3 separate regions of the Homo sapiens genome follow, and regions 1 and 2 are each linked to region 3. The links are contacts of gene promoters, found by promoter capture Hi-C in blood cells and fetal thymus (Javierre and others, 2016). All regions are on one chromosome and are shown on one strand. Each heading gives the region's core, a stretch centred on a gene start or on the middle of the fragment in contact. The rest is flanking DNA. Distances are from core to core; before and after follow the strand shown.

Region 1 (2,937 bases), core at 237-2,736, 1.0 Mb before region 3:
CACTTCTACCCTGAGAGAACAGAGCAGAAAAGACATAAGCAGCAAGCTTTCAATAAACGCCTGCGAAAGAACGTTAAAATCCCATCCCACTGAGGTTGCACTTTACTCTTTGATCTTCTTCAGCTTTATCCTGTAATTCTTTTTTTTTTTTTCTTTTTTTGAGATGGAGTCTTGCTCTGTTGCCCAGGCTGGAGTGCACTGGTGCGATCTGGGCTCACTGCAAGCTCCTCTTACCGGTTCACGCCATTCTCCTGCCTCAGCCTCCCGGGTAGCTGGTACTACAGGTGCCTGCCACCACGCCCGGCTATTTTTTTTTTTTGTATTTTTAGTAGAGGCGGGGTTTCACCGTGTTAGCCAGGATGGTCACGATCTCCTGACCTTGTGATCCGCCCGCCTCGGCCTCCCAAAGTGCTGGGACTACAGGCGTGAGCCACCGGCCTATCCTGTAATTCTTATGCTGTCTCAATAAATGTTCATCGTATTTCCTAAACTAGACTACAGATTCTGCTAGGAAAACAATCTTGTCTTTATTTTCTTCCTCATCCTTTTTGTGAACCTTTGAGTGCTAATCTAGAAAGTAATAAATGGTAATTTTCTAAAAATAGAGTGCTTTCTAGGATCAACAGGTAAATATACTACTATGAAAACAAACACACAAAAAAAGAGAAACTCATAAGTATTTACCTGTGTGTTCACTACTTCTTGAGATAACGTTTGATTGAGTGGTGGATACATTTCAAGTTTTATATTTAAAATTCCCACAGAAACTTTTGATTCTGTGCCTATAAACATAAATATTTTGAACTTCAGAGATTTCAATACTATATATATTTAGTCAACCAAAGTCTAACCAAAATAATTTAGGCACTTGGGTGTTTTATCACTTACATGGAATAAAGATAACATTCAACATTACCTTTAATATTCATATTAAAATGAACCAAATCAATTTTTTTAAACAAAGGTGTTTAATTATAAGGAGATTATTTTCTTAGCTTTCTGACACTCTTTTTCTTCTTTAAGTAGAGATGGGGTCTCCCTATGTTATTCAGGTTGGTCTTAAACTCCAGGGCTCAAGTGATATTCCTGCCTCAGCCTTCCAAAGTGCTTGGTGGGATTACAGGCATGAGCCACTACACCTGGCTTTTCTAACAGGTTTTAAGAAACTTTTCTGACTTAAAGGATTTGAGACTCTTAATTTTTGTCTTAATTAAATGTATAATATCAACCAGACTTACATTAAATTCAAAGTCAAAGCAACTGTTAACACCTCATTCCTTCTCCACACACACACACACACACACACACACACACACTAAAAATTAGAAAGCATTTATATTGTCACTTATAGTAACTCCCATTTGTCACTCCCCATTATCCAATTACAGGCTGAGTAGAAATTTTCAATCCATGCCTGGATTTAAAGAACTAGAAAACAAATATACTTCACATCAAAACGATTTAATGTTTCTTCAGTGAATCAGAATCTGCTTGTTTCCAGGTCACTGCTACGATTATCATGTTAGGCCTATTTTTGAAGACAAATTGGGTATTGTTTTTGAAAATAAATTTCTTACATAAAGGACACTTTTTCTATAATTTTTATTTAAAGAAAAATACATTCTTGGTATGACTTATTAAAATCTAAATTACTGGCTGGGCGCGGTGACTCACGCCAATATCCCAGCACTTTGGGAGGCCGAGGCGGGCAGATCACGAGGTCAAGAGATCGAGACCATCCCGGCCAACATGGTGAAACCCCATCTCTACTAAAAATACAAAAATTAGCTGGGTGTGGTGGTGCATGCCTGTAGTCCCAGCTACTTAGCAGGCTGAGCCAGTATAATCGCTTGAACCCAGGAGGCGGGGGTTGCAGTGAGCCGAGATTGCAGCACTGCACTCCAGCCTGGTGACAGAGCGAGACTCCATCTCAAATAATAATAATAATAATAATAATCTAAATTACTAAGGCTATGCTGTCCACTGGCAAGGTTTAACTCTGTGACTAAGTTTAAAAACCAAAGTAATTCCATTATATGTTATAGATAAAACATTGGTAGGTTTTGTTTTCTCATTTTATTAGCAAGTATGTGTTACATAGCGGGCAGTGTGCAAGATTCCAAGGAGACTATGATAAATAAGATAGGCACCAGCTCTGCCCTCAAGGACTAGTTGATACTAACACTGAGCAAATTATTTCCTCTTCCGAGTCTCACTCACCCACACTGTAAAAGGTTGGGAGAACATCTACTCTGTATTTTGCAAGAATCACTGGTACCAAAGGGGATGTATTCCAGGGTGTGATGACTGGACACACATAAGTTTGTATGTGTGTCAAGAATATTAATTTTCTTTATAGCCTTATATTTAATCAAATGAACTTGAAATTAAAACCCTCAAAATTCCTGTATTCATTTTCCAGAAAAAAACATTTCTCCTAAGACAAGGTCAGATTGACCATGAAGTGCTATACTGATATTATTCTTCAAGACATTTCTCAAGATTAGGATGCTGAGGTCCAATTGTAACTCTAACGAAATTCTATTTTACAGGTTTCCCTCTTGGATTATAAAAGCATTTTAAAGATATAAAATATATTTACAAATGAACTGTGGCTATAAAAAGGTTAACAATGATATATTAATCACCATACCTACACCCATAAGTTCCACAGTCAGACTGGTCACTCCATTTTCTGAGCCCAAAACCGATCGCCATTCCAGAAAATATGATGCTACTAAAGTCGTCTCACCAAATATGTCTGTTTTGATTAGCACCATATGAATTGGATCACTTATTGATAACATTGTTGTTGAATCAGCCATTCTAGTTCCATCACCTAGCAATATAATCCAAACGAAATTATACCACACTACATATTCAGTTAGGCCAACATAAAAGAATACTTTTATTAAACAGTAAATAATAAGCTTATAT
Region 2 (2,955 bases), core at 96-2,595, 1.0 Mb before region 3:
TGCTCCTGTAATCCCAGCTACTTGAGAGGCTGACACACAAGAATCACTTGAACCTGGGAGGCAGAAGTTGGAGTGAGCCGATATCGCACCACTGCACTTCAGCCTGGGTGACAGAGCGAGACTCTGTCTCAAAAAAAAAGAATTGTATGATACGCTGATGAGGAGAGTATTGCTATCACCGAAGAAGTGGTAGCTTACATTTTAAAAAGCTTAGCCTGTCCACCCCCTACAGATACATTCTTTTCAAACCTAGGTCAGTTGAATTGGACTACATGTGTTTGTCACAGATAGGTTAGAGGCTGAGTAATCTTTGCCTTAGTCTCTTTTCCCTAAATTTATACCCTTTTCCCTAATTCCTAAACTTCCTTTGGACTGAACATACCTGGTGCTTGCTAGATTTGCTGAGTTCAGCATACCCCCCAGTCACACCACATCACGCCAGCCATAGGAGACAATTTCCGAAAGACCTGTAACAGTAGAGACCTGATCCACCAAAGGATTTGCTGTTATTTGCAATCTGTTTATGGTAACCAACACTTACCCCTTAGCACAGTAGTAATCCTGTGTCCTTAGAGAGTATTTTATCCCTGACTCAGGAGCTTCTCATTCTTTTTTTTTTTTTTTTTTTTTGAGATGGAGTCTTGTTCTGTTGCCCAAGCTGGAGTGCAGTGGCGCGATCTCTGCTCACTGCAAGCTCCGCCCCCCGGGTTCACGCCGTTCTCCTGCCTCAGCCTCCTGAGTAGCTAGGACTACAGGTGCCCGCCGCCAAGCCTGGCTAATTTTTTTATTTTTTAGTAGAGACGGGGTTTCATTCACCATGTTAGCTAGGATGATCTTGATCTCCTGACCTTGTGATCCACCTGCCTCAGCCTCCCAAGGTGCTGGGATTACAGGCGTGAGCCACCATGCCCAGCTGCTTCTCATTCTTAGAAATGAAGTTGGGCAGGGAAGCCTTAAGCATTTCTAGAGTGTGCCCCTTGTAGAACCTGATGAAAGCTATGGATCCTTTTCCCAGTAAAAAATACAAACACATTGACTCACATGACATTTTATGTTATTTCAGATCCTTTAAAAAGTTCTAAGGAACACACATGTACCTATTTCAGGATTTTATTACATGGCTAACATTCTCCTACCTTTTACTGTTTTTTCTGTTAATCCCAATGAGTGTTGCTGTTCTCTGGAGACAAAGAGGGGAGAATATCAAAAGCCAAAAAGTTCAGTTTTCTTAAGGATGATTTTATTTGTCATAATACCAGAAATTTTCAGGGGAATACTTCTCTGGTTTTGCAGTTAAAGTCAAAAGAAAAATAATTTTTTATATTTTCTTACAGTTAACTTTTCAGAAATGAATCTGTTCCATAGAATAAAGCCCACTGGCTTATTTTAAGGTACTTCTAAAAGGTCTTATTTTAACCAGATGTCATATATGTTCCGTATTTTAATTATTGAAAACATTTAAATGCAAAAGGTATTATAATTCAATTTTTGTTTATCATAATAATTTCAACTTGTATAACTTCACTGTCATATGATTTCATTTTCTTCTTGTTTTTATAGTGTATTCATTGCCTTCAAGAAAGCTGGTGGCTCTACAGTTAAGATCCATTTTTATTAAGGTTAGTATGTTGTAGTTTGCCTTTTTGTTTATTAAAGTGTAATGAGAAAATAAGTAACATTAGGGATTAAGATTCAAAAATTACTACTGTTTTTACCATATGTACAGTTAAGATCTGATTCTACAGAGAAATAATCTTACAATATTTCAGATGTGTTACTGTCTTTTCATGATTATATAGAAAGGAAGCAGGGCTTTTATCTTGAGTGTTAACATATTTTCAGTTCGGGTAGCATTGGTGAAAAAATGTAAGCATATTAATATTAGAGGTTTATTCCATTTGTATTACCTTTCAGCTGGTGGCATCTACATATAAACTATGTATATATCAAATTATGTATATGTCATAAAATATTCTGAATCCGACTTCTTTCCTCCTCCACTGCTGTCATTGAGTGCAAACCAGTGTCATCTTCATGCCCCTGACTAACTTGCTGATCTGCCTCCCACAAACAGCAGCACTGATGATCCTCTAAACGTACACCACATCACTACTCTCTTTGAAACCCTCCAGTGGCTTCTCCTCTCACTCAAAATTGTGATCCAGGAAAAGGGGCTCGCTTCCTGATGCACTGTGACACCAGGTTTTTGAGACAAGAAAGGCTTTATATTGCAAATTGACTCCCAAGGAGACAGGAGTCGACCTCAAATCTGCCTCCCTGTGCTGACTTCAAGGCAGTGTTTTTATTAGAAAAGGTTCAGAGGGTGGATTCTGAGATCAGTAGGTGAGCGATGGAAGGAAAGGGGACATCTGGAAGGTCCTTGGGCATGCACAGTTATCTCCTCATGCTAACTCATAGGGCTCATGTGCCAATTCAGGGGAATGAGTATGAAACGTGATGGAGAGTCAGCTTGCGACACCAGGAAGCTTGTTCTCTGCAGACTCTACTTGGCCATATTGGTTCCAACCAATTTCAGCCAGTTCTTTTATCCCATAAGGGGAGGAAGTTTCAGTATTTTACCAAGTAGTTTCTTATCTGCTACCCTGCAAACTCAATAATTTCTTTCTTTTTTTTTTTTTGAGACAGTCTCCTCTGATGCCCAGGCTTAAGTGCACTGATGTGATCTCAACTCACTGCAGCCTCTGCCGTCCTGGGTTCAAGTGATCCTCCTGCCTCAGCCTCTGGGATTACAGGGACACGCCACCACACTGGCTAATTTTTGTATTTTTAGTAGAGACGGGGTTTTGCCATGTTGGCCAGGCTGGTCTCCAACTCCTGCCCTCAAGTGATCCACCCACCTTGGCCTTTCAAATGCTGGGATTACAGGTGTAAGCCACGCCCAGTCCAAACTCAAGAATTTGTTAGTCATTGGTTTCTTTAACTCTTTGAGGATGG
Region 3 (2,979 bases), core at 59-2,558:
CAATATTCATGTAATGAGATTAATTCTCAACTTACCTCATTTCATATAATAACAAATACAAGCAGTCATCAGAAATTGATGGGTCATCCTTATTTGTGAAAAATAGGCCTCATTCTTGGTTCAAAGTTTGTAACCTCAAATGGGCTAATGCCCACAATTTAGAAGTGATTAGATTGGAAAGCACAACGCTGCAAATGCTGCCTTCCCCAAAGCCAGGTCTATTCATTAATATACCTGTGCCTACTGACAAGAAGGAAGGCTGGTAAAGCACATTTTCAAAGCTGTTTTAAATGGATCAATTTTGGTAAAGAGTAATTCAAGACGGATTGTAAATCTGATCAGTTTTACAACCTTGGAAGGTGGGGACTTGACGCACGACGTTAATATGCACACGCTTCAATAATCTATCCACAGGTAGTTTTGACCCTGATCTCAGGTTGAAAGTCCTCAACTATGGAGCTTTCGAGTTTCAGTACAGTAGGCGCTTTCACTCCCCAGTAGAAATCTGGGGTGATGGCCAAAAAAAGTGTGTTGTCTCCCCCAAACCACACCATGCCAAGTTCAGCCAACGCAGACTAATGCATCCTTAGGTATTTGTCAAGAAGAGGTATAGGCGGTCCCTTTTCTCAGAATCTAACAGGTAAGAATGGCCTCTTGTGGCTTCCCAAACACGGCGGTAAGGACCAGTCTGCCAGTCCCTAATAAGAAATTGCTAATTTTAAAAACCATTCCGAACGCGGGCGCTTCCGGGCCCCTCTTCAACTGGCTTCGGAAGAAGGGGGGAGAACACGGTGAAGGGTTACAGCAAAGGAGGCTGAAAAACAGTCCCAAAGCAAGATTTGCCAGGACACTGGCTCGACCCGGAAGGGCGGGGGGACCTCTCTCGGCCGCCGGGGTCTGTGGGGTCGGCGAGTGTGGACGACCCGTCTGGCAGTCGTACACTGCCACAGCCCGAAGAGCGGCGCACGCGGAGCAGTTGCCGGGTTCGCGCCGCGAGTCAGCTCCCGGACACACGCCCAGGGTTGAAGGTGCCCTCTAGACCCCTCCCGCTGCCCCACAGAGGCCTGGGCCCATGCTACCTCTTAGGACGCTGGAGCCGCCGCCGCCGCTTCCCGCCGCGCAGGCTGGACCACAGCTCCTCGGATGCCACGGCGGTGTCACTCAGCAGAGCAGCCCGACAAAGCGTGGGTCCGCGTGCAGGAACCCGCCGGGCTCAGCCGGACGCTAGCCCCCTGCCGCCCCCGGCCCCGCCAGCCGCGCCCACTAGCAACGTGCTCGCGACCTCCAGTGCCCGCTCAGTGAAGCTTCTGCATGCCGCGCGCGGCACGTCGGGACTCGTAGTTCCGGCGCGGAGGACGTGCGTCGCGGCACTCTCGCCTGACCGTCTCCACGTGACTCTCGCACCTCCGGAAGTGACGTAAGCAGACACGCGTGGCGCGGGCCGCCGTTTCCGCAAACAGAATCGCGTTTGGCTGTGCTGGTGAGTGTGACGGCTGGAACTCCGGCCCTTCCTTTCTTTGTGTTTGTCCCTCGGCCGCCGTGGAGGGGTGGAACTGGCACTCCCACCCCTGACATGGGCTCACTTCGCATTAGCCCTGTGCTTCACTACCCAACGCGTGGGTCTATTGCCTTGTGTCCTCAGTCCCAAGGAAAATGGGAACTCCTTGGGGTGGGCGGGCGCTGTTCCTCCTCCAGACTGGGCGAGCCCGGGTGGGAGAAGCAGCTCGAAGAGCTGCTCCAGCTCGCGCCCCAGGGCCGTGCTGGGGAGGGGCGTGGGGTCCGCAGGTTTGTCTTCAGCGGCGCTTCGGAAACCTGAACCAGAGGTTGAGTAACAGGCCGCGCTAATGACGGAGGGGGTGAACTTGGCTGGAGAAGTCCCTTCTCGCCTCTGTGCGTCCTCTCGGGCCCCGTGGTAGAGGGTCAAGCGGGCGGGTCGGGACTTAGAGCTTATCCCGCTTGGGCTTTATCCCGGCGGCCCTGGCGGCCTGCTCGCTCGTACCCTGAGGAGCTGAAATGACGCAGAGACATAGCTTGCTTCGGAGGTGTGACTGGAAAGCCGGGTCGAAATGTTCGTGTGGTTATTTATCGCGTGTCCATCTCCATGTCAGTCGACCACCTTTCGAAGGTTTCTTGAAGATTCTGAGGGACAGCTCTCTTCCCTATGGAGTGTTTTCATTATTCCACTTTGAGTTTGGTTTGGGTTTTTTTTCCCCCAATTTGTTAAATTGATACATAGAAGTTGCACATATTTGCAGGTGCAGGTGATACTTTGATACATGCATACAATGTGTAACGACTAAATCAGGGCAATTGGGATATTTGTCATCTCAAACATTTATCTTTATGTTGGGAACATTCCAATTTTTCTTTTAGCTATTTTGAACTACACAATAAGTTATTGTTAACTGTGTCCACCCCACTGTACTATCAGGCACTAGATTTTATTTCTTCTGGGGTTTTTTGTACCCATTAACCAATTTCTCTTCTTCATCCCGCTCCTCTTCCTGCTACCCTTCCCAGTCTGTGGTAACCACCAATCCACTCTTTACCTCCATCAGGTCCACATTTTTAGCTCCCACATGAGTAACAACATGATATTGTCTTCATGTGCCTGGCTTATTTCAGTTAACATAATGACATCCGGTTTCATCCATGTTGTTGCAAATGACAGGATTTCATTCTTTTTAATGACTAATATTCCATTGTGTATATATGCTACATTATCTTTATTCATCTGTTGATGAACGCTTAGGTTGATTCCATATCTTGACTATTGTGAATAAACTTGAGACTGCAGATATTTCTTAGATATACTGATTTCCCTTCTTTTGGATCTGTACCCAGATTTGCAAAACTGTTCATCGGACAGGGGATTAACAACCAGAATATAGAAGAAACTCATCTCAATAGCACTAGTTCTATTTTTTGTTTTTTGAAGAACCTCCATCATACTTTTCCCAGTATGTAAATTAGTGGCTG

What was found. Contacts are between HindIII fragments. The CHiCAGO score rates a contact against its expected background, and 5 or more counts as called.
Region 1: a fragment that was not itself captured here is called in contact with the fragment with the promoter of FAM210A in region 3 in 5 of 17 cell types (fetal thymus, activated CD4 T cells, naive CD8 T cells and 2 more); the score reaches 6.9 in fetal thymus.
Region 2: a contact is called between a fragment that was not itself captured here and the fragment with the promoter of FAM210A in region 3, in 2 of 17 cell types (activated CD4 T cells and naive CD8 T cells). The highest score is 6.4, in activated CD4 T cells.

The regions. Positions count from the first base shown.
Region 1 is chr18:12,694,570-12,697,506 of GRCh38, forward strand. It overlaps CEP76 (centrosomal protein 76), which reads right to left. Exons shown (of 12, transcript NM_024899.4): 5 at 2,654-2,839; 6 at 685-782. It also overlaps a transcript of PSMG2 not described here. Among named protein-coding and RNA genes, the nearest start is that of CEP76, 6.7 kb to the right of the region's middle. The HindIII fragment of the contact is 2,884 bases long and covers 45-2,928 here.
Region 2 is chr18:12,711,142-12,714,096 of GRCh38, forward strand. It overlaps PSMG2 (proteasome assembly chaperone 2), which reads left to right. Exons shown (of 7, transcript NM_020232.5): 3 at 1,561-1,619. Among named protein-coding and RNA genes, the nearest start is that of PSMG2, 9.6 kb to the left of the region's middle. The HindIII fragment of the contact is 2,277 bases long and covers 208-2,484 here.
Region 3 is chr18:13,725,250-13,728,228 of GRCh38, forward strand. It overlaps FAM210A (family with sequence similarity 210 member A), which reads right to left and starts at 1,309. Exons shown (of 4, transcript NM_152352.4): 1 at 1,080-1,309. RNMT (RNA guanine-7 methyltransferase) reads left to right here and starts at 1,424. Exons shown (of 12, transcript NM_003799.3): 1 at 1,424-1,480. RefSeq lists an enhancer at 487-1,412. The HindIII fragment of the contact is 3,253 bases long and covers 1,303-2,979 here.